Regions from separate parts of the Homo sapiens genome. Here all the other regions are linked to region 4. The links are contacts of gene promoters, found by promoter capture Hi-C in blood cells and fetal thymus (Javierre and others, 2016). All regions are on one chromosome and are shown on one strand. Each heading gives the region's core, a stretch centred on a gene start or on the middle of the fragment in contact. The rest is flanking DNA. Distances are from core to core; before and after follow the strand shown.

Region 1 (4,443 bases), core at 1,089-3,588, 170 kb after region 4:
CCCTGTGTTATATATACTCTTGTACATTATTATAGACCTGTATAGAAGTTCTCTAGGATATATACCCAAGATTGTGATTCCTTGGGCATAGAGTGGGAGAATTAGTGTATGTGCCTACTTGAGTGCTTGAGAGTTCTTTTTTGCTCACATGTTTGCCTTTACTTGGTTTTATCTTTCTTTTTTTTTTTTTTGTTTGATAGAGAGTCTTGTTCAGTTGCCCAAGTGAGTGCAGTGGCATGATCTTGGCTCACCGCAACCTCTGCCTCCTGGGCTTAAGCCATTGTTCTGACTCAGCCTCACGAGTAGCTGGGTTTACAGGGGCCCGCCACTACGCCTGGCTAATTTTTGTATTTTTAGTAGATACGGGGTTTCACCATGTTGGCCAGGCTGGTCTTGAACTCCTGACCTCAAGTGATCCACCCTCCTCGGCTTCCCAAAGTGCTGGGATTACAGGCGTGAGCTACCGCGTCCAGCCTCTCATTCTTATTTTATAGTATATTTGTGTTGTTTCATAGATGCTGTATTCTTTCTGGGGATATTAATGATAGTTTTAAAAATTTTGTTACCATTGTTGTCTTTTCTTTATTGAGGCTTTCCCCAGATGTCTGGTAGTCTTGTGGCTGTCCATTCATATTTAAGAATGAAGTGCCAAAAACTGAATTGGAAGCTCTATTAAGTGTGGCTTGTTGAAGGGTGAAGAGAGTAGCTGGTGGCCATTTTTTTTGTGGTGGGTGGAGGGCATATACTCATAGGTTTGTTTCTCTTGGGCTAGTCAGTTTCCCTGAGAGTCTCCAGTCTCTTGCCAGGAGAATGTGTGTCTGGCTGCCATGTTTTGAGAACTCATTTTAGAAAAGGAGCTTGGGTTTTTACTGTTGTGCTCATGTAATTCTGTTATCAATAAGGCACCTCACCCCCACCCTCACCTGCATTGGAGCACCCATTTGAAGGGATTACTGAAGGATGGTTGTCTGGTTGTGAAGAGTGGAGGAGGAAATCTGGGCATGTGATGGCTGTTTTGTAGACTTTCAACAAACCTTCTGATTTTGAGCCCAACTCCTCACTACCTTAAGGAGGGATAGTACCTGGATGATCTGTCTGAAGCATCCTGTTTGTGGGTAGGTAGTGTGAATCAGCTTGTTTCTTATTGCCTTCTTCGTTTGCAGGTTAGGCTTCAGAGTTTTCCACTTTGCTAGTGACATATAATTTGTCTATTTTATGGCTTCTTTTAGGTTTTGACACCATCTCTGATTCTTTTGCTTACCTATTCTCTTTATGCCGTGGTTCTGGTTCATTTATTTGAAAAAAAAATTTCTTTATAATTTTAGTATTCTACCATGTCTACCATTTTATTTCTTTACATAAACTCTTTGTTTTCTCCTCTGTTCATTTTTTCACAGCATTTGAATGACCACTGTGTGCCTATTGAAGATTAAAATTGAATTTCTGGCTTTGAGTTAATATGATATGGGAAGAAAAGTGCAGTCTATATGTGCTAATTCCTGATTTGAAATTTGAAAACCCTCATAAGTGTTCTTAAAACAGATATATTACAGTGGTTATTAAATTCATTAATGGATATGAATTGAATGAAGGCAAGTTTTTGCGATTAAAAATTTTTTTACTACTGAGGGAACGAACCCTTTATGTCATCTTCTGGAAAGATTTGTCTTTTTTTTTTTTTAACCCCCCAAAAAATCATTCAACTTTTAGATAAGAGATAATTTTTCTCCTTCATAAAGACCATAAAGATCAGAACTTCTGAAGAAATAACAGCATACTCAGTTGAAAAAATAGTAGTGAAAAGTATAGAAATTCAGTGTTTTAGGTAGGTTGATAAGCTTTATCATAGTAAACATATGCTTTCAGCTCTACTTTTTGAAAGTTTTTTTCTTGTATAATCAGTATATTGCTTATCACAGAAAATTTGGAAGATAAAATAATATTTCCATATTCAAATTTTATATGCTGATATCTTCTCTTTTCTTTTTTTTTTTTTTTGAGATGGAGTCTTGCTCTGTCGCCCAGGCTGGAGTGCAATGGCACAATCTCAGCTCACTGCAACCTCTGCCATCTGGGTTCAAGTGATTCTCCTGCCTCAACCTCCCGAGTAGCTGGGATTGCAAGCGCCCGCCACCACGCCCGGCTAATTTTTGTATTTTTAATAGAAATGGGGTTTCCCCATGTTGGCCAGGCTGGTCTCGAACTCCTGACCTCTGGTGATCCGCCCGCCTTGGCCTCCCAAAGTGCTGGGATTACAGGTGTGAACTACTGCGCCCAGCTATATTCTGATTTCTTAAGTTACGAAATATTTTTCGAAAGTATAGAGAATAGTGTAGGTTGGGTTTTTGTTCCCAGCATTCAGATTTTTCATGTTAGTGTTCTGTTTTCTCAATACATTGTGAACATTTCCTTTAACCAAGCCCTCATATTGGAACTTTTAGGTTTTTTACAATTTTTCACTAGAATAATCACACTGCAGTGAACAGTCTTACACATACTACTAGTTTTGTTTCCTTTATGTACATTCTAAAAGTGGAAGTATTCAATTCAGGGTTTGAGTTCTCCAGATCCTTGACAGATATTTTCCTTTAAGTGTTTTGATATTGAGAATGTCTTTGGAGAACTTCCCAGCTTGGGAACCTATAGATACTGGGAGTTGGGGGTCAGAATTTGGGGCAAAGGTTATGATAAACCTCTCAAAGGAAAACATTTGAAACTGGGCTGTGAAAGAAAATATGTATTGCCATTGGATTATTGGTTAGAGCTATAAGATGAGGCCAGAGATGAACACCTATGAATCATATGTCTGCCACATTGACTTCTCACAGGAAAAGCTTTATTGAAGGGTTTTTCAAACTTTGCTTTCATTGAACACTGAAATGCTCTTAATAAAAATAAAGCTACTCCTTAATTATCGTATAGGAAAAGAATGGGTAGGATATTTCAAATTTTAATTTTCTTTTCTAATTTCTATTAAAATATTTTAAACGGACCTACTATCGTTTGACTAGAAGCTGTTAACATCAATAATTTATATTTTCAAATGAACTGAACACTTTATACTTATACTCCACTTATTTAAATTCATAACTTTTTTGTAGTCATACTTTCTTGTAGTTTTGGTTTTTAATAGTAAATGCATATCATATACTTTCTAATAAAATTATGCCTGATTTATATGGTGGAATTAAGTATATTAGGATTTCAAGTTGTTCCACAAGAGTATTATGGATTTTAAATATTCAGAACATTTAGAATGTGTTTGAGATTTACTGATTAGGTGGGCTGACCCAGTGCACTGAATATATAACATCTTGAATATAATAAAAATATAAAAAGATCTACACTCATTGTTTTGGGTTTAGAGTGGTGGAGAATGGTATTGAATGAATCCAGACAAAAGGATCTTGCAGGACCAAGAAGTTTAGACTTGTTCTAAGAAGTGGTTAAAAACGTTGTAGTTCCTTATCCATTGAAGTGATACAGTGAAAAGGGTGTTGAGATTAATCTGAGGGCTGTGTAGGATGAATTGAGGAGCAAAGAGTCTGAGGTTAAGAATGCTGGTTTAGAGCTGTTGTAGTTATCTAGGTGTCAGTTGACACAGACTTGAGCCAGGCTGGTGGCAGTGGGAATAGATCGGATCAGATAAAATCAAAGACTTTGGATAGAATAAGCAAAATTTGATAATTGAGTAACTAGACATGAAGGAGAAAGTGAGGGGATCTGTCTTTGAAAGAGTGTGTTTCTATTTCACCACCAGTATTGCATCTTGTTTTTAAGTTTATTGCTTCTTTGGCTTTATTTCTCTAGAAAACAAGAGGAAATTTAGGTATAATGGCTTTAATTTTGAAGGCTTCTGATTCCTGAGAGGGTACTTTGAAAAGTAACTTACAATTTTTAATTAGTAGCTTAGGTGATAACACCTAAAAATATTTGCTTAGGATAAACTAATTTTCTCATACAATTACTTTGTTATTCCTCTTATTACAGACATAGAGATTTATTTCCTTTCTTTCCTATCAAAGCTATCTTCAGTCCAACTTCAGCCTTCATTTTCAACTGTATTTTACATTGTTTTAAAATAAAACTTTTGCTCTACTATAGTGATTTTCAACTGCAGATGCATATCAGAATTTGCTTGGATTTTTTTTTTTTTTTTTTTTTGAGGCATGCAGTGGTACAATCCTGGCTCACTGCAACTTCTGCCTCCCGGGTTCAAGCCATACTTATGCCTCATCCTCCCAAGTACCTGGACTCACAGGTGCATGCCACTATGCTGGCTAATTTTTGTATTTTTAGTAGAGGCGGGGTTTCACCATGTTGGCCAGGCTGGTCTCGAACTCCTGACCTCAAGTGATCTGCCCGCCCCTTGGCCTCCCAAAGTGATGGGATTACTGGTGTGAGCCACTGTGCCTGGCCCACTTGGGGATCTTAAAAGGAAGA
Region 2 (4,112 bases), core at 1,178-3,677, 150 kb after region 4:
TTGGGTAGTGGTCCTCACCTGCTCCAGAGACTTCTCCAGCCATTGCCACTCTCCACTCAGGTGATGAAGCTGGATGAGGGACTGCACCCACCAGAGTCAGGCCAGGGTCCTGTCTGCTCTGTGAGTCCCTCCAATTGTTCTTATTCCGAGATTTCCATTGTTCTGCCCCCTCTTGACTCCCAGGGCTCTCAAGGGAGTGGGGGTAGTGAAGGGAGCCCTTTCCCAAGCTCCCCCAAGAGCTCTAGTCACATCACTTCTGATACTTCTTTTCCCACCAGCTGGAAGAAAGAACTTTCATTTGTCTTGAAATGAGAAAAATGTTCTTAGAATATTTTGTATTACTCTCTGCTCTGTCATTTATGGTAAACAAAATAAAATAATAAAAAAAAACAACCCATGCTCTGAATCCTTCTGGTTTTTAGCTTTTGGTTCAAAAAGCCCTTTTCCTCTCAGAAAAGCTAACTCTGAAAGCCAGAATTTCAAGACCATACTCTCTTCTGTGAATTAAAAATAATTACATATATATATATGTACTTGTAAACACAAACATATAGATACATACAATTATATACATACAGTTATACGGGGTTTCACCATGTTGGCCAGGCTGGTCTCGAACTCCTGACCTCGTGATCCACCCGCCTCGGCCTCCCGAAGTGCTGGGATTACAGATGTGAGCCACTGCACCCAGCAGGCAGTTCTCAAAAAACTATACATATATTTATATATAGACTTTGTTCTCATCTTTATCCTTTTCGCCCTTAATAAGAAGTAGCAAGGACTCAATAGGTGGAAGAACAAAGAGCAAGAAGAAACTCCCGGGAAAGAAAATCTTTGATTTTTATCTCAAAATATTACCTTGCCACATAAATTGTACTATATTTTATCTGTTTACATGATGAGACTTCCCTTTGTGAAATGTTGAGAATAGGGATCATATCTTACTCACTTTTAAATTTCCAGAGCTGCACTGTTCAATATTGTAGCCGCTAGCTACATGCGGCTATTGAGCACTTGAAATGTGGCCGGTCTAAATTGAAAGATGCTGTAAGTATAAAATACACACCGGATTTCAAAGACCTACTACAAAAGAATGTAAAATATCTAATACTTTTCAAAATATAGATTACATGTTAAAATAACATCTTGAATGGCTTAAATAAAAATGTTAATTTCACCTTTTTTAAAAAAATGTTTTAAAATGTGGCTACTAGAGTAGCTGGGAATCCAGGTGAGTGGCACAATACCTGACTAATTTTTTTATTTTTGGTAGAGATTGGGTCTCACTGTGTTGCCCAGGCTAGTCTCAAACTCCTGACCTCCACCAATCCTCCTGCCTTGGCCTCCCAAAGTGCTGGGATTACAGACATGAGCCACTCAGCCTGGAAGTTTTAAACGACATGTGTGACTCATAGTACGTTTCTGTTGTTTAGTTCTGCTCTTGAGCCTAAAAGTGTTTGGTTACATCCCACATAAAGAAAGAGAGGGAAGAAATGAAAAAAGGAAAGGAAGGAAGGATAATATGGCATCAAAGAAGGTATAATTTTTTTCCCTCTAAGTGAGGTCAGAAAGGGCAGTGAACAGGGATTACTTCGAGATCCAGAATTTGGCCCTCAGCCTCCTGAGTGTTTTTAATACCCCAAAGAAGATAATACAGATCACAGGCAATGTGTCAGAATGGAGAGTACTCATTTCTAGTGGTGGGAATAGGGCATATCTTCCTTAGTATCACAGTCCCCAGAGTGCTTGATGGGTGGAAAGTTGCCCGGTGAGCATGGACCTAGATAACATGCACGTGGAGATTCTTCATGAGGTATTGTGCCAACCCATGGAGAGTACACAATACCCTCCTGGTGACTAGAATGCCTCTGTCCTTCCAAATCCAGGAGTGCTTTTCCTAAACAATGAAGTATGCACACTGTCATTTTATATACTCCACATTCCCCTTGACATATTTTTCTTTTTCTTTCCTTTTTTTTTTTTTTTTTTTTTGAGACAGGGCCTTGCTTTGTCACCCAGGTTGGAGTGCAGTGGCACGATCACAGCTCACTGCAACCTCAACCTCCTGAGTTCAATCAGTCCTCCCACCTCAGCCTCCTGAGTAGCTATGATTACAGGTGTGCACCACCATGCCTGGTTAATTTTTGTATTCTTTGTGGGGATAGGGTTTTGCCATGTTGCCCATACTGGGCTTAAGCGATCCACCCACTTTGGCCTCCCAAAGTGCTGGGATTACAGGTGTGTACCACCGGGCCCAGATGACATATTTTTCTTGTAATGCTGTTCATGAGGTTAGGAGGCACTCCGTCTTCTCTTATTAGATGCTATTTTCAAACCATCTTCTTGAGAGTTCTGGAAATATCCCTATTTGTAGCATGTAGAAGTCAGACAATGTTCTTTTTTTTTTTTTTTTTTGGGACGGAGTCTCGCTGTGTTGCCCAGGCTGGAGTGCAGTGGCGCAACCTCGGCTCACTGCAAGCTCCGCCTCCCGGGTTCATGCCATTCTCCTGCCTCAGCCCCCGGAGTAGCTGGGACTACAGGCGCCCCCAACTGCGCCCGGCTAATTTTTTTGTATTTTTTTTAGTAGAGACGGGGTTTCACCGTGTTAGCCAGGATGGTGTCCATCTCCTGACCTCGTGATCAGCCCGCCTCGGCCTACCAAAGTGCTGGGATTACAGGCGTGAGCCACCGCGCCCGGCCGAAGTCAGACAATGTTCTAAGGGAAACAGAACCTTCCTTTTGTTATGCTCTGTCAGCTACTTAGTTGATAATACTGACTTGAATCTAAGTTCTTTGAATCTCAGATCTTTGTCTTTTACGTGGAGTTACTACCCAAATCACAGATAATTTAATCTAATCAATGTGCAATACTTTGAAAACCATTAACTTCTCTATGAACACTAATGGTTCTTTTTTTTTTTTTTTTTTTTTTTTAAGAGTTTCGCTCTTATTGCCCAGGTTGGAGTGCAGTGGTGCGATCTTGGCTCACTACAACCTCCGACTCCTGGGTTCAAGTGATTCTCCTGCCTCAGCCTCCTGAGTAGCTGGGATTGCAGGTGCCTGCCACCACACCTGGCTAAATTTTTGTATTTTTAGTAGAGACGGGGTATCATCATGTTGGCCAGGCTTCTGACCTCAGGTGTTCCACCCGCCTCAGCCTCCCAAAGTGCAGGGATTACAGGTGTGAGCCACTGTGCCCAGCCCTAATGGTATATTTGAATGTAAGTTATTATGATGTTGATGGTGTCAGTGATAATTTGTTTCAAGGAACAATTTTGAGTGTCTTTGCTATAGACACAGGAACTCAGAATCAGGAGGAAGTGATTATTTGGAAGACTAAAGAAAGAATAGATATTAGTACCCAAATCGGCAATATCATTTACCAGATTATAATAATCTTTTTATTTTATTTTTTCCTTTATCAGATCCAAAATACGGAGCTGGCATATACTTCACCAAGAACCTCAAAAACCTGGCAGAGAAGGCCAAGAAAATCTCTGCTGCAGATAAGCTGATCTATGTGTTTGAGGCTGAAGTACTCACAGGCTTCTTCTGCCAGGGACATCCGTTAAATATTGTTCCCCCACCACTGAGTCCTGGAGCTATAGATGGTCATGACAGTGTGGTTGACAATGTCTCCAGCCCTGAAACCTTTGTTATTTTTAGTGGCATGCAGGCTATACCTCAGTATTTGTGGACATGCACCCAGGAATATGTACAGTCACAAGATTACTCATCAGGACCAATGAGACCCTTTGCACAGCATCCTTGGAGGGGATTCGCAAGTGGCAGCCCTGTTGATTAATCTCTACATCATTTTAACAGCTGGTATGGCCTTACCTTGGGTGAACTAACCAAATAATGACCATCGATGGCTCAAAGAGTGGCTTGAATATATCCCATGGGTTATCTGTATGGACTGACTGGGTTATTGAAAGGACTAGCCACATACTAGCATCTTAGTGCCTTTATCTGTCTTTATGTCTTGGGGTTGGGGTAGGTAGATACCAAATGAAACACTTTCAGGACCTTCCTTCCTCTTGCAGTTGTTCTTTAATCTCCTTTACTAGAGGAGATAAATATTTTGCATATAATGAAGAAATTTTTCTAGT
Region 3 (4,394 bases), core at 35-2,534, 220 kb after region 4:
CAGGTGAGCCTGGCATTTGCTAGGAACCAGAGTGGAACCGGCAAAGTGGCCAGCAACAGAGTCCTGATCCAAATGGAGAAAGGGAACCAGGCGTACCTCAACCTGGAGTGGGAAACTTGATAGGAGGTCAGAAGTACTTCAGCTTTGGATTCTCATTTTCCTTATTTAAGGAACTGAGCGCCAGAAGGTAGAGACTAAGAAAGGGAAGAGAGAAAACATCAAACCTTCAGTGTGCAGATTTCAGGTGTAGCCTTATTTAGTGAGTTCAGGACAGTGAAAAATAATGAGTGGAATTACAGTTTATAAGTAGTTCCAGCTGCATGATAGCTTGTTTCCTTGTATGATGCCATTCTTGGATATTAAGAATATAGTAGTTTAAAACAACAAAAGAAGTGAAGATTTTATTTGGCCACCATTTGTTACTTCAGGCAATACCATTTCTTAGATTTTTTTTTTTCCCAGGTTAATGATTTCCTGGTAACAGGGTTGCTTACTTTAATTAATTTTTTTGGCTGTTTCTATCATAACTTTATGCATATGTGTTTGCCATCAATTCTAGGCTTTCCCATTTCACAACTATTTCATGTTAAATTCTAATCTAGTACCCAAGGCTGAAACATTTAGAAAAAACAAAAAAATAGATGGCAAATCTCAGTGGAATACAGCTTTAAAGTACAGACTATGATGAAAGGGAAGTTATGTAGTTTAAAGTACATCTAATTTTTTAAAAACATAAATACGTTTAACAGTTACTTCTTCTAACATTAACAGAGGCCTATACTCAGGGAAATTCTGTTTTTTACTCCCTCCTCTCATACATATGTGGATACCTGCATAAACATACATACATATCACACATGTATAGATGGGTGTAGAAAATTTCACAAATACAGCTTGATTAGCTTTCACAAAGTGAAAACAGCAAAGTAATCAGCACCCTGTGTGTGTGTGTTTTATTGCCTTATTAATGCATGAATATGGTTGTATTTTCAGTGGTCCTCTTGTTACAGTTACCCATCTACTTCTATCCCCAATAATAGCAAAACTGTTTTTGATTTTCATTCCTGAATTGCATTGAGAGGTTATCATCATTGTGTACTACTTAGTGATAAGCATAACTGGCATGTTATTCTTTTGCTAAGATGTAATAATTTCTTTTTTTTACCATCTGTATTCAGGCTGTTATTCACTTACTTTTCATTTTCTTAGTCATTGTCACTTGAATTGTTTTGCTTCTCTATTTTATTAACTTGTGTAGCTTCTGGAATTCTCCCTCATTTCCCCTGAGATCTTTGGTGCTAAACTCAAAATAGCAGTTTGAACGCTGGCACCAATTAGAATTCTAAGTAATTTTTTCTCACCAATAACTCTGTACTATATCCCTGTATACCCAGGTTATTATTATAATTTCTTTTGCATCCAAATCTCACTGTAATCTTTTTCTTGTATACAGATGGTATGTATTCTGATCTTATTTTTTTTCCAGATTGCTTTTCCTTAGAGTTTTCATTTATTTGACTTTATGTTTGCAGTATCTGATGACTGTTTATTGAACTTTGAGCCTGCCTTGTGGTGGGACAGTTTGCTTTTATACTTACATCATATGACTCTGGTTTACAAATTAATTTTCCTAGTAAGCAAAAGAAACTACATCTTAGGTGAACTTGTTTTTTCTTTTTTAGTATAAATAATCTGGCATACTGTTATTTAAAATTTCTTGAACTAGATATCCAAACTACAAGCAAATGAAATATTTCTGGGTCAGCATTATGTTTCAGGAAACTATGACTGGGCTTCGTAATGTATTAGATTAGGAGGCTGTAACTTAGTCCTTGTCTTTGACTGTGTAACATTACTCGAGTCATTAGTCAAATTGTTGGATTTTTTTTCAGATAGTTTCCTCATTTGTACACAAGAAAAGCCAGATACTTTACATCTCTGGGTTGTTGTAGGGATCATCTGCGAGTATGTGAATAGTACTTTGAAAATATAAAGTGGCCGGGTGCGGTGGCTCATGCTTGTAATCCCAGCACTTTGGGAGGCCTAGATGGGAGGATGACTTGAGATCAGGAGTTCAAGGCCAGCCTGACAAACATGATGAAACCTCGTCTCTACTAAAAATATAAAAATTAGCCGGGCGTGGTGGCACATGCCTGTAATCCCAGCTACTTGGGAGGCTGAGGCAGGAGAATCACTTGAATCCGGGAGGTGGAGGTTGCAGTGAGCTGAGAACGTGACATTGCACTCCAGCCTGGGCAACAAGACTGAGACTCTGTCTCAAAAAAGAAAAAAAAGAAAATATAAAGTACGGTACAAATGTCAAGTTTTAATTCAGACGTACTGAAAGGGACTGAGTGTTGCTTTCATTAGTAATTTAATCATAGAGATAAATATGGGAAGAATTTTTATTTCATGATATCTGGGGTTTAATCTGTAAGTCCCCAGAATTTTTGTTATAACAAAAAGGGACCAGATACGGGCTCTTTAACCGAAGTACTCCTACTCTGGGCCTCCCTGCTGCTACTAAACCACCTTACCTCACTCATGTATGTCACTTTTATAGTTTTCTTTGGAACATCCATTGGTTATGTGTCTTCTGCTATGAATTTTCTATCACTAACATGGCTTTGAACGTGATTTGATCAGATGGCCCATTTTCCTGTCTTCCTCTATTCCCAAAGATTAATGAATTTAGTTTTCTACCTGACAGCTACCTTTTAGTTAATCTGGAAGCTTAGAAGAATCACAGGTCATTTGATGACGACTTGTTATTTTCTCTGATTTAAAGGACATGCCATGGAATTTTTCTTTTTTTCTGTGTATGTGCTTTATTAAATAGAAGACAGAATGGTGGAAGAAACAACCTGAAATGTAATTAAGAACTCTTAACTAAATAGAAAAGAGTTCATTATTGGATTTCTCAATATTAAGCTAAAGAGTCAAGTTAGTGTTAGAGATATATTTTAGTAATATGCTCTATTTTTTGTTGGCCATAATTTCCTTTATATCTTCTGTTTACCAGTGCTGTAATGCTATATATCAACCTTTAGTCAGTTTACCTTCATTTTTCCCTCCCTATTAAGAATGCCCAAAAAGTCCTATCTCTGTATTTTGGTTTGGAGCTCTCTCATTTATTGGAAGCTCTTATTCTTTGAAGTTGTCATTTCTTTTCATTATGTGCTGTTAACTCCTTTCACCTACTTATCATTTGATACCTTTTGCCTTTTTCACTGTGCCTGTATTTTATGTTTCACACTAACATTCTCCCCCCATTTTACTTTGCCCATTCTACAGAAGTTTTTAAATCTTTTTTATTAGATAACATACATGGTACAGGCTAAAAGGCACATAAAGCTTTCCAGTGAAAAGTATCTTTTTCATCCTTATTCCCTAGTTACCATCACCTTTCTATGCAGGCAACAAGTATTTAGTTTCCTCTAACTCATTCTGAAGATAATCTGTGCAATAAGTAAATTAATGCATATATTCCTTTTTAACGCTTTTAGAAAATATGGTATAATGCCATATTAATGTACACTGTTTGCATTTTGTTTTCATTTATATCTTGGGAGATCATACCATATCAGCATATGTAACACTCTCTCATTCTTTTTATGGTGTCATGTTTACTCTTTCTTGAACTGAAATTTTAGACACCCTGAATATTCTTCTAGGTTGAGGTATTTCTTCTGGATATTCTTCTTTTAAAATTAATATAGTACTCAACTGATAGGTTATGTGCAAATAATGATCTCAGAATCTTTTTTTCATGTACAGAAAATGTTACTGTTATAAGTAAACAAACTTTTACATTCTAAAAAGATAATGAAAATTATTTTTATCTTTATAGTTTGAATCAGCTTGGGTACTGACAAATATTGCTTCAGGAAATTCTCTTCAGACCCGAATTGTGATTCAGGCAGGAGCTGTGCCCATCTTCATAGAGTTGCTCAGCTCAGAGTTTGAAGATGTCCAGGAACAGGTAAAAATGAAACAAAAAGAAGCAGGTGAAAGAAAGTTTTTGGCTGGGCATGTCGCTCACTCCTGTAATCCCAACATTTTGGGAGGCCAAGGTGGGTGGATCACGAGGAGTTCGAGACCAGCCTAGCCAACATGGTGAAATCCCGTCTCTACTAAAAATACAAAAATTAGCCGGGCATGGTGGTACGTGTCTGTAATCCCAGCTACTTGGGAGGCTGAGGCAGGAGAATTGCTTGAACCCGAGAGGTGGAGGTTACAGTGAGCCGAGATCGCGTCATTGCACTCCAGCCTGGGTGACGAGAGCAAGACTTTGTCTCAAAAAAAACAAAACAAACAAAAAAAGAAAAACAAAAAAAACCACAAAATTTCCCAACATAATAAGGGGCTGAGTTTCACCAGTTGGCTTTGGTAAT
Region 4 (3,974 bases), core at 147-2,646:
AAAGTGACACCCAAAAGAGAAATGACTAATATCACACAGTTGCCCTTCTGAGCACTCCTTGGTAAAATTAATCCTAGGAAAACATGGTATTTTGTTTTCATAAGGGCCATGAGCCAAGCATATCTCCTGTCCCCCTCCTTCCTTCCTTCTGTGCGCCATTCTTTTTCTGTTTCATTTTTCCTTTTTGGATCCCTGCTTGGGCACTCTAATTGCATGGCCTCAGCCTCAGCCTCCTTGCCTCTCCTCTGGCCCGAATGCTTCTCCAAATCTAGCGACATGAAAGCGGAATTAGGGGTTGACTAGATCCCGATAGGTCATCATCCATAAGATGCCAGTGGAAAAGGTGCCCATTCTGGGAGCTGCAGGTCACTGGCTTCCCATTGCAGACCAGGGAGGCCCTTGAGCCAGCAGATCACCTCTGGGCTCTTGGCCCACCAAGTAGTGGTGGGTCTGTAAGGAGGGAACTTTGCCGACTTTCCCTCCAAAGCTCAAATCTCCCAACCCACAATCACTTCAGAATATCATCCTTGCTCCCAATCTGAGGGCCACTAGAGACTCGGAGAAGAGGCCCCGGCAGGCCCTCGACAATGGGCACCTGTGGTCGATCGACAGCCCCTCCAATGTGGCCGCTGTGACGGCTCTACGTTGACATTCAGGCAGTGTGATTTTAGGTAGCGCCTCTGCCCCTCTCCCAAGTGACCCCGGGACCCCTGGGAATCTCCAAGAACCACAAGGAATCTCTGTGACTTGCCACGTTTCTTAATCAGTTTCCTTCCCCACACAAGAATAATAACAACAGGAAAAGACAGAAAAGGATGATAAGAGGATAGACTCACTTCCACAACAACAACAACAAACAATAACACCACCACAACAGGGAAAGACAGAAAACGATCGAGGGATAAAGAGTTACTTGCGCGGTTCCGCCGCCACCTCCGGGCCGCGCCATTAAGCGCCTGGAAGCGCAGGGCGCCGGGGAACCGCAGCGCCCCGGGTGCGCTCGGAATCCATTCTGCCGCCCCCGCCCCCGCCCCCGCCCCGGCCACCTCCGCTACAGCAGCCGCCGAAGTCGGGCGGGTCACCCTCCCGTGCGTGCCCTGCCGCCATTTCCCTGGAGGGAGGGCAGAGGTGCCCCCTCCTCACCCCACCCCTCGCGCCCCTCACCGTCCTCCGGGTAGAAGAACACCAGGAAGCGGGATGGGCTCCTGGGATCCTGGCGGACCTCACACTCGCCGCCTCCCGACCTCTTCGGGCTCTGGAAGTACATCTGCAACTTGGTGTTCAAGTTCTTCGGGGGGTCGGGGCCCCAGGAGCCCTCGACCAGCAGCGGGAAGGAGCCGGGCACAGCCATCCTCAGCTCCGCTCTCCGCCGGACTGCAGGGGCCGCGCCAACTCCGGGCCGCTAACTTTGACTCTTTCGCTTTCGTTTCCTGGAAAACTCCCAGGCCTTGGTTTCCTTTTGCCTTCAGCCTAACACAGCGGACCCAGGAATGGCAGAGTCATCCCCCGCCCACCTCCCCACCTTCGCATTCGGCCCACAGCCAAGGCCAAAGTAACCCTTTGGGGCTGGCCAGCGGCGCCCCGGGAAGGCGGCCTCAGTTCACCTGTGCTCCACGGGCTCCCACACCCCCTCCTAACTCCGGGCCCCCTACCTGCCGCTCGCCCCAACCGCAGATCAAGTCGGCAGCTTTGGGGCACCAGACCTTGCCCAAACGCAAAGATCATTTAATTTTTGCCGCAAGCCGACCCTTTACAAAAGAATAAAATGACTCACAAACTGTGGCCCCTTTAGAATGTTTGCTGCCTATTTGGGGACTTTTTCAGCAATCATTGTGATTATCAGAATTTTACGTTGCTTTCCCTGTTTTGCTTTCTGTTCCTTGATCTGTTAATACTACATGTCTAGAAATGTGGGGGAAACAATTACACTCACAGTTTTTTTTGTGGAATATTTACTAGGCGCCATGCACTCACTCACTGAACCCTCGCTGAGCTCACGGAGCTATGGTGAACACAGTGGGCAATAGGTGCTCTGGGAAAGAATATACTTGTGTTCCTGGAACAGATGAGGAGTGGCTCCTAGTCCAGCTGTGGCGGCTCAGGGAGGGTTTATAGGGCGGTGACATGTAACCTGATAACCCCAGGATATCAGGGGATAGCCTTGGAGGGTTAGGAAGTGGGGTTCCACGGTGTGATTCACATGTACAGGATCACTCCGGCTGCTGCGTGGTGGCTAGAGTGGAGGCAGAGAGATCAGCCAAGTGGCTACCATAGTGTCCTAAGTGAGAGACAAGGGTGGCTGAGACTGGGGTGCTGGCAGAGAAGAACTGAGAAAACGAGGATTCTCAATTAATAGTGAAAGCAGGACTTGCTGAAGAATGTGAGCCTTGAGAGAAGGAGAAGCTCAAGGATGACTCCATGGTCAGCCATGGATGGCCCGTGCAAGTGGCTGGATAATAGTGGCATCTGCAAGAGGGGAGGCCGAGTGATGGGAGAGAAGCTGGGGCTGTGTGTTTCCTTGACCCCAAATAAAGCAGTGTTGCAAGTCGAGGGGGGCGGGGGGATTATCATTCCAGTGCTACCGATACCTCAGGTCAGAGAAGTGTCTGCTGGACTGCTGAGGAGCGGCAAGCATAGTCTCCTGGTGAGGAGGGAGGAGAGGGAGATGGCAGCTACTGAAGACTGAAAGGGAGGGAAGGAAGTGGAAGCAGAGAGCGTAACACGCTCTTTGCAGAAATGTGACCGTGAAGGGGAAGAAGGAGCCAGGCAGTAGGTTGTGGGGTTACAGGATCGGGCTGAATTTCAGAATGAAGAGAACCAGAGATGGGCCAAATGGTTTACCTGGCTTTTATTTCGGCTCTGTAATAATCCTAAACAGTACACAGATATTTTCTCCTGCCTCCAGCTTGCTACCTGCAGATGGCGCTCATCATCTGATCCAAAACTGCTCTGGACCCCCGCATGCGGAAGACGGGAGGACAAGCGCCCTCAGCCAGACTTGGTGACTGTTTCTCCCCAGGGCCTTTACATCTCATCCCAAACCACAACTAAAATCAGCACTCCTCCTCTCCCACTCTCCCCTGAGTTTGGGGTTCCAGAACTCAGCAAAAAGTTTCCCTTTTTCCTCACATAATTATTGTATAAGAAATAAAGTCAGAGGCATTTCTGGATTACTTTCGAGGATTTATTTAATTATCGACAATGTGTCTTACCACCGAGGTCTGCTTATCATGCCTGGGTGGACTGGGAAGGAGCTATCAGAGGATCAGGATGGCAGGTCTTGAAAGCCAAGGAAAGAAAGTTCTAGAAGGGGCAAATTGTTGAACGGCATTAGCTCCTGCAGTACTTTGTTTTCTGCAAGTTATTTTTGCCTTGTTCACTTGAAGAATGCGTATCCTCTCACAATTCTCTGTTTCCTGTGGGTATCTGCCTTCTGATCCTTTCTTCCTGGGAAGCACGTGTCTTCTCAGGGCCTGGGGTGGGGGTGGCCTGCTGTAGAAGTGGCCGTGTTCCTTGATTCTCCTTCTACTTCACAGCTACAGCTCATCTTAATGTAACAGCCCATGTCTGCATTTTTGGGCTGAACTTCCCTTTCCCTACTTCATCTAAATTCCCCCTTTTGGTTTCTCTACAAACTGCCGTAGCCTAGCATCGTGCTCTTTTGAACTTCTCTACCAACTAGCATCAGCCTCCTCATTTCTACCATTGAGGTATAAAGGAGGGAAAGGGCTGCTTTCCCTTCTGTCCTGAATCAGTGAGTTGTAGGTACCTCATGCCCACCACTCCACCTCATTTTGCTTCTGAAACTCCTGACCTAGTCACCCCAAAATAAGACATGGCCATACATCAAGGGAAAAGTACTCCAAGAAGTTCTACCCTCAGAGGGAGCCCCCTGATGGACACATCACAGTCTTTGGCCTTACTCCCTATGCTCAGGTACCTTTCAAGAGCTTTTATCTTCAAACCTCCATAGG

What was found. The method cuts DNA at HindIII sites, captures the fragments that hold promoters and counts their contacts. A CHiCAGO score of 5 or more calls a contact.
Region 1: a fragment that was not itself captured here is called in contact with the fragment with the promoter of PARP14 in region 4 in 1 of 17 cell types (activated CD4 T cells); the score reaches 5.1 in activated CD4 T cells.
Region 2: a fragment that was not itself captured here is called in contact with the fragment with the promoter of PARP14 in region 4 in 1 of 17 cell types (activated CD4 T cells); the score reaches 5.4 in activated CD4 T cells.
Region 3: a contact is called between a fragment that was not itself captured here and the fragment with the promoter of PARP14 in region 4, in 8 of 17 cell types (megakaryocytes, erythroblasts, endothelial precursors and 5 more). The highest score is 8.7, in megakaryocytes.

What each region holds. Positions count from the first base shown.
Region 1 is chr3:122,504,996-122,509,438 of GRCh38, reverse strand. The region is part of intron 1 of KPNA1 (karyopherin subunit alpha 1); the gene reads left to right. Among named protein-coding and RNA genes, the nearest start is that of KPNA1, 7.7 kb to the left of the region's middle. RefSeq lists enhancers at 651-700, 861-910. The HindIII fragment of the contact is 996 bases long and covers 1,841-2,836 here.
Region 2 is chr3:122,528,057-122,532,168 of GRCh38, reverse strand. PARP9 (poly(ADP-ribose) polymerase family member 9) reads left to right here. Exons shown (of 11, transcript NM_001146105.2): 11 at 3,426-4,112. The coding sequence ends at 3,805. It overlaps LOC105374071 (a long non-coding RNA gene), which reads right to left. Exons shown (of 5, transcript XR_001740869.2): 4 at 950-1,045. Among named protein-coding and RNA genes, the nearest start is that of KPNA1, 15 kb to the right of the region's middle. The HindIII fragment of the contact is 9,672 bases long and covers 1-4,112 here.
Region 3 is chr3:122,453,458-122,457,851 of GRCh38, reverse strand. KPNA1 (karyopherin subunit alpha 1) reads left to right here. Exons shown (of 14, transcript NM_002264.4): 6 at 3,851-3,982. Among named protein-coding and RNA genes, the nearest start is that of WDR5B-DT, 39 kb to the right of the region's middle. The HindIII fragment of the contact is 2,903 bases long and covers 1-2,735 here.
Region 4 is chr3:122,678,261-122,682,234 of GRCh38, reverse strand. It overlaps PARP14 (poly(ADP-ribose) polymerase family member 14), which reads right to left and starts at 1,396. Exons shown (of 17, transcript NM_017554.3): 1 at 1,165-1,396. The coding sequence starts at 1,351. RefSeq lists enhancers at 658-747, 1,289-1,688, 1,113-1,885, 2,289-2,408 and a silencer at 999-1,048. The HindIII fragment of the contact is 13,941 bases long and covers 1-3,974 here.